Regions from separate parts of the Homo sapiens genome. Here region 1 is linked to region 2. The links are contacts of gene promoters, found by promoter capture Hi-C in blood cells and fetal thymus (Javierre and others, 2016). All regions are on one chromosome and are shown on one strand. Each heading gives the region's core, a stretch centred on a gene start or on the middle of the fragment in contact. The rest is flanking DNA. Distances are from core to core; before and after follow the strand shown.

Region 1 (2,911 bases), core at 202-2,701, 2.9 Mb before region 2:
TCAAACAGGTATTATCTTACAGATTAAGATACTAGGGGCTGGGCATGTTGGCTCACACCTGTAGTCCCAGCACTTTGGGAAGCCGAGGTGGGTGGGTCACTTGAGCCCGGTAGTTCAAGACCAGCCTGGGCAACATGGCAAAACCCCGTCTCTACTAAAAACACAAAAATTAGTCAGGCATAGTGGTGCACACCTGTAGTCCCAGCTACCAGGAAGGCTGAGGTGGGAGGATCGCTTGAGCCCGGAAGATTGAAGCTGTGGTGAGCTGAAATCACACCACTGCACTCCAGCCTGAGAGACAGAGTAAGACCCTGTCTCAAAAAAAAAAAAAAAAAAATTACTAGGACTCAGAGAGGTTAAATATTTTGCACACATTTATGCAGCAGAAAAGGTGTAGCCAGTTTTGTGCTTATCTGAATCTCTTTCACATAATGAAACGGGGCCATCCGCATTTCACTCATGTCTGAGATTCTGTCTACACAGTGCATTGTTTCTATAGGATAGCTGTGATCAAACTGGTGATACATGAGAATCACTTGGGGTGCTTAAAAAGTCCTCAATCGTCTTCTTTATTCAGAGATTTTTTTTTAAAAAAAGTCTCAATCCAGGGCCCCATCCTAAAAGATTTAATTCAGTAAATTTGGAGTAGAGCCTATGAATTAGTATTTTAGGAAACACTCCAAATGGTTCTGTTGGAGGTAGTTCCTGATTACTTTCTAGAAATACTGTCATAAGAAGTAAAACACCTGGTTTTAAGATCATGTAACATACTAGAGATTCGTAGCTGAAGTGTGAAGGCATATGACTATGTGATGAAAAGATGTATATGCAACTAACGTATTTTAGGTTTCACATAGCAATTGCATTTTTTGCATTCATTTTAAAGTTTTTCTACATAGAAACTAGCGATTCTTGGCTGGGTGTGGTGGCTCACCCCTGTAATCCCAGCACTTTGGGAGGCTGAAGTGGGCAGATCGCTCGAGGCCAGGAGTTCAAGACCATCTGGCCAACATGGTGAAACCTCGTTTCTACTAAAACTACAAAAATTAGCCAGGTGTGGTGGCAGGCACCTGTAATCCCAGCTACTCAGGAGGCTGAGGCAGGAGAAACGCTTGAACCCAGGAGGTGGAGGTCACAGTAAGACTCCGTTTCAAACACAAACAAACAAAAAGAAACTAGTGAGTCTTTTTTTTTTGAGACGGAGTCTCGCTCTGTCACCCAGGCTGGAGTGCAGTGGCACAATCTTGGCTCACTGCAAGCTCTGCCTCCCGGGTTCACGCCATTCTCCTGCCTCAGCCTCCTGAGTAGCTGGGAACACAGGCTCCCGCCCCCCACACCGGGCTAATTTTTTGTATTTTTAGTAGAGACGGGGTTTCATGGTGTTAGCCAGGATGGTCTCGATCTCCTGACCTTGTGATCTGCCTACCTCGGCCTCCCAAAGTGCTGGGATTACAGGCATGAGCCACCGTGCCTGGCTGGAAACTAGTGACCCTTAAGTTGAGTTTCTATGAGTCTTTATGTTCTACATATGAGTGGGCCTCCCACTAGGAGTTTCTTATTTGTAGCAGTTGTTTGCATATTTATTTAGTCATGATGATTTTAAGTTACCAAATAGAAAATGAATAAATGAGAACAAACACTTAAAAAAAAAGAGGACCCTAAGGGTGATATTTCATTAAAGTTTCAGAAATATATCAGGCTTGATTACTTAAACAGTTGTATAAAGATCTTTCAGATATTTAGCTGAGGTTAATTCCTTTAAAATAAACCATATAGGTCACATAGTACTAATAAAATATGTTGACGAATCCTTGAGTATTGCCCTGATTATATCTCCTTGGGGAATGGAGAACTCATTAGCATGAATTCCGTGTTAGTCCTCCCTGCCTTGTTCCCCAAGTACTTTCCAGACTGGCTTGGCATAAAAGGGTGATCAAAATGTATGCAGCATGGCCAAGTTTCAAATGAATGGCTCATCTAACTCCACTGATTAAATACATAACATTATGTAGTTTGAAAAGGCTGTTGTGCTTCATTAAGTTTACTTTTCTGTCTGAGAGCTTTAAAAAGGTAAATTTTGGGGGGGTGGGATAGGGAGAGGATTCTATAAATTCTTGGCTCTTCATATTCAAATGGCATATGCATATTTCCCAACCCAAGGGAAAATCCTCAAAGCTGAGAAGTTGTTAAATTGGGAACAGTAAGGGTGTGTGTGTGTGTGTGTGTGTGTCTGTGCATGGAGAAAGAGGAAGAGAGAAAGATAAACCTGTTTGCTTTCTGAAACAACAAGTAGTAAAACAGGTTGTTTAGGGTAAAGTCCCTTGAACTAGATAATTGATTTTAAATACATTTGCCTATAATAATACCTTATATTTACATAGTGCTTTGAAAAGTTCAAAGCATTTTTACATTTATTATCTCATTTGAACTTCACTACAACCCTATGAAGTAGGTACAGCACGTATTATAATCCACCGCCACCACCACTTAAAAGACAGCTATACTGAGGCACAAGCATGTCGAGAAACTTGTTTAAGGTCATATAACCAGTTGGTGTTACATCTAGAACTGGAACACCAGAACTCTGAAACTGAAGCCTGTGTTTTCTTGGCAGAAAGTGCCTCTGCTACTGCTTGATCTACCCAGAGTTCCTGTTGAGATTTGTGGCTACAATTTAATTGGAGAATACAAATCAGGCACGTCTAAAGAGCTCTACAGAAAAGAGATTGTTTCTTTTAGATCATGACTGTGTTAGGAAAGGGAGGTAGAGAATGGAGTCAGTTGTTTTGGACAATGCAAATTAAAAACAAACAAAAACACTTTGTAGTCAGTTTCTGGATATGTTGGGAGCAATTCATTCATTAAATCGTGTATTCATTTTTTAAAGTATCCGTTAAGTGCCTTTATATAA
Region 2 (2,994 bases), core at 66-2,565:
GTAGTGTCCAGTCTACTTCTTACTGGGTATTTGCAAAAATGAATTTTCTTGCTCTATCACCCAGGAACATTGTGTTTTGGGAGCTGGGTCTTTCCTCTTTAACATAATTCCATTCCCCATTTTGTAGCAAATCAGTCTGCTCCTCCTCTAATACCTAAAAGTCAACAAATACCTGCCTCAAGCCCCAGGTTTCCCATCTTCTCCCGAAGGTCTTCTAGCATCGGTTTGGTTAGCAATTTCCTGCCAGAGCCACCTACATCTTGATTATTTTGGTCAGTCTTTCGGGGATTTCATTTCAGACCCCCTTCGAGAAACACTGTAGCCCAACTGATCCCAGGGGTTGGTGAACTTTCAGTTTTATTTTCCCTGACGGTGTTAACGCCCAAACTTTTCACCTCCTAAGTCAAAAAGGACTTTGACTCTAGCTCATTTCCTACTACCTCCAACGTCAGTTAAAAAAAAAAAAAAAAAAGCAAAACACCACTCTACATTTAAAAGAATCATATATTTTTCCTTAAGGATACTTTTAATGTTTCTGACATTTAGCATTTGTTTTTTGCATAAAAAGTCGTTTTGGCATATCCATCCTAGTGGGACTTAACATTTCATGAAATGATTCACTACTAATAAACAAAAAAGGGAGGAGGGAGGCCTCATGGGTTAATAGTTTCTTTCATTGTAGATGACCAGGAACTTTGACCAGCCCCTTCACTTCCCCAAGCTCTCTGAAAGTGGAGGGTTGATCTTTCCTTTTGACCACTTTTGTCGCATCCCGTCTAAGGGTGGCTGATTTCACTGCTGAATTAACCACCAAGCACCCCCCCACCCCCTCCCCCAGCCACCACTTTCTCAAATACTACCCTTCCTTTTCCCCCTCCCTTAAGACTTATTTCTAATATTTCTAAAGTGCACTGTTTTGGGCCTCTCCCCATCCCCGCCCCCCAAGTGGGCTTTCCTTCCGCCTTCCTCGGCTCGGATTCCTGACTTGGTCGCCACCCCCTTCTCCTCCTCTCCCACCCCGCATTGTCTTTCTGAAACCGCCCCCTCCCGGAGCAAGTCCCTGCACCCTCGCCCAGAATCCCGGGCTCGCACACACTCCGCGCAGGCCGCTCCCCCTGCACACTCCTCCCTCCGTCTCCCCCCGGCTTCCCCGCCCCTCTCTTCCTCCTTCTTTCCCTCCTCCCTCTCCCGGCGCCCGAAAGGATCATTGTTAGCCGCCCCCGCCCCGCCCACCCCGGCTGTTTATTTATGCACACGTCACTGGGCCGGCCCCGCCCTCCGGCATCTCATTAAGGCAGTGTGTTCCTCTCGCCCTGTCAATAATCTCCGCTCCCAGACTACTCCGTTCCTCCGGATTTCGATCCCCCTTTTTCTATCTGTCAATCAGCGCCGCCTTTGAACTGAAAAGCTCTCAGTCTAACTTCAACTCACTCAAATCCGAGCGGCACGAGCACCTCCTGTATCTTCGGCTTCCCCCCCCCTTTGCTCTTTATATCTGACTTCTTGTTGTTGTTGGTGTTTTTTTTTTTTTTACCCCCCTTTTTTATTTATTATTTTTTTGCACATTGATCGGATCCTTGGGAACGAGAGAAAAAAGAAACCCAAACTCACGCGTGCAGAAGATCTCCCCCCCCTTCCCCTCCCCTCCTCCCTCTTTTCCCCTCCCCAGGAGAAAAAGACCCCCAAGCAGAAAAAAGTTCACCTTGGACTCGTCTTTTTCTTGCAATATTTTTTGGGGGGGCAAAACTTTTTGGGGGTGATTTTTTTTGGCTTTTCTTCCTCCTTCATTTTTCTTCCAAAATTGCTGCTGGTGGGTGAAAAAAAAATGCCGCAGCTGAACGGCGGTGGAGGGGATGACCTAGGCGCCAACGACGAACTGATTTCCTTCAAAGACGAGGGCGAACAGGAGGAGAAGAGCTCCGAAAACTCCTCGGCAGAGAGGGATTTAGCTGATGTCAAATCGTCTCTAGTCAATGAATCAGAAACGAATCAAAACAGCTCCTCCGATTCCGAGGTAGGAAAAGCCCCTCGGGCTGGTGGGGTTTTTTATCTGTTTCCTGGGCTTGGCAAATGTTGCTGAAAGGGGAGAAATCGGGGCTGGGGGCGGCGGCGGGGCCCGGCGGGCGGCGTGTGCGTACGGTGCCACCATTGCAAAAACTTGTAACCCTGTTTTTTTCTACCCCCCCCTCGACCTCGCCGATTCTTTTTCTCCCCCTTCTCCCCCTTCTGCGTGGCGTTTGCCCCTCGCCCTCCCCACCTCCACCCCTCTGGGAAGGCGGAAAGACGGCCTCCGCCTCGCTCCGAAAGTTTCCGAGACAAATCCCGGGAAAGTTTGGAAGAAGGTGAGTACGCCCCGCGCGCCCCGCAGCCGCCCGGAGCCGCCCCCCGGGCCGGCCGCCCCGCGCGCCCCGGCCCCGCGCCCGGCTCGGCCTGGCCCTGCGCCGGCCCGGTCGGGGCGCCCGGCCCCTCGGGGCACTTTCTAAAAAGTTTCTCCTCACTCTCTCCCGCTCCGCGCGGCCGCCGCTGTCCCCTCGCCGCCCCGCCATGTTAGCGGCCAAGAGGCAAGATGGAGGGCTCTTTAAGGGGCCACCGTATCCCGGCTACCCCTTCATCATGATCCCCGACCTGACGAGCCCCTACCTCCCCAACGGATCGCTCTCGCCCACCGCCCGAACCGTAAGTGCCTCCGCGCCCGGCCCCCGCCCGCTGCCCGCCCGCCCGCGCCGCCCGCCGGGCCCCGCATGCGGCCCCTGCCCTGCCCCCTCCCCGCCTCCCCCTCCCCGCCTCCTCCCCTCCCTCCCTCCCCTCCCCCGCTCGTGGCCCAGGAGGCCCGAAACTCTCCAAACTTTTCTGCCTTTTGTGGACTGGATTTGTTTGCACTTCGCCACGTTCTTGCTTTCAGTTTGCTGCCTCGTGATGTTGGGGAGACCTCTCTGTCCAAGCAGGGCTTTGTTGGTGGGGAGGGGGGGGAATCCGAAGAACTTTCCTTTGCGT

Evidence for each region. Contacts are between HindIII fragments. The CHiCAGO score rates a contact against its expected background, and 5 or more counts as called.
Region 1: a fragment that was not itself captured here is called in contact with the fragment with the promoter of TCF7L2 in region 2 in 1 of 17 cell types (neutrophils); the score reaches 5.3 in neutrophils.

What each region holds. Positions count from the first base shown.
Region 1 is chr10:110,001,097-110,004,007 of GRCh38, forward strand. The region is part of intron 2 of ADD3-AS1 (ADD3 antisense RNA 1); the gene reads right to left. It also overlaps a transcript of ADD3 not described here. Among named protein-coding and RNA genes, the nearest start is that of ADD3, 5.4 kb to the right of the region's middle. The HindIII fragment of the contact is 7,170 bases long and covers 1-2,911 here.
Region 2 is chr10:112,948,932-112,951,925 of GRCh38, forward strand. TCF7L2 (transcription factor 7 like 2) reads left to right here and starts at 1,316. Exons shown (of 15, transcript NM_001367943.1): 1 at 1,316-2,014; 2 at 2,276-2,342; 3 at 2,552-2,676. The coding sequence starts at 1,826. LOC124902502 (a long non-coding RNA gene) reads right to left here. Exons shown (of 2, transcript XR_007062291.1): 1 at 2,847-2,994; 2 at 1,698-2,076. The HindIII fragment of the contact is 8,187 bases long and covers 1-2,994 here.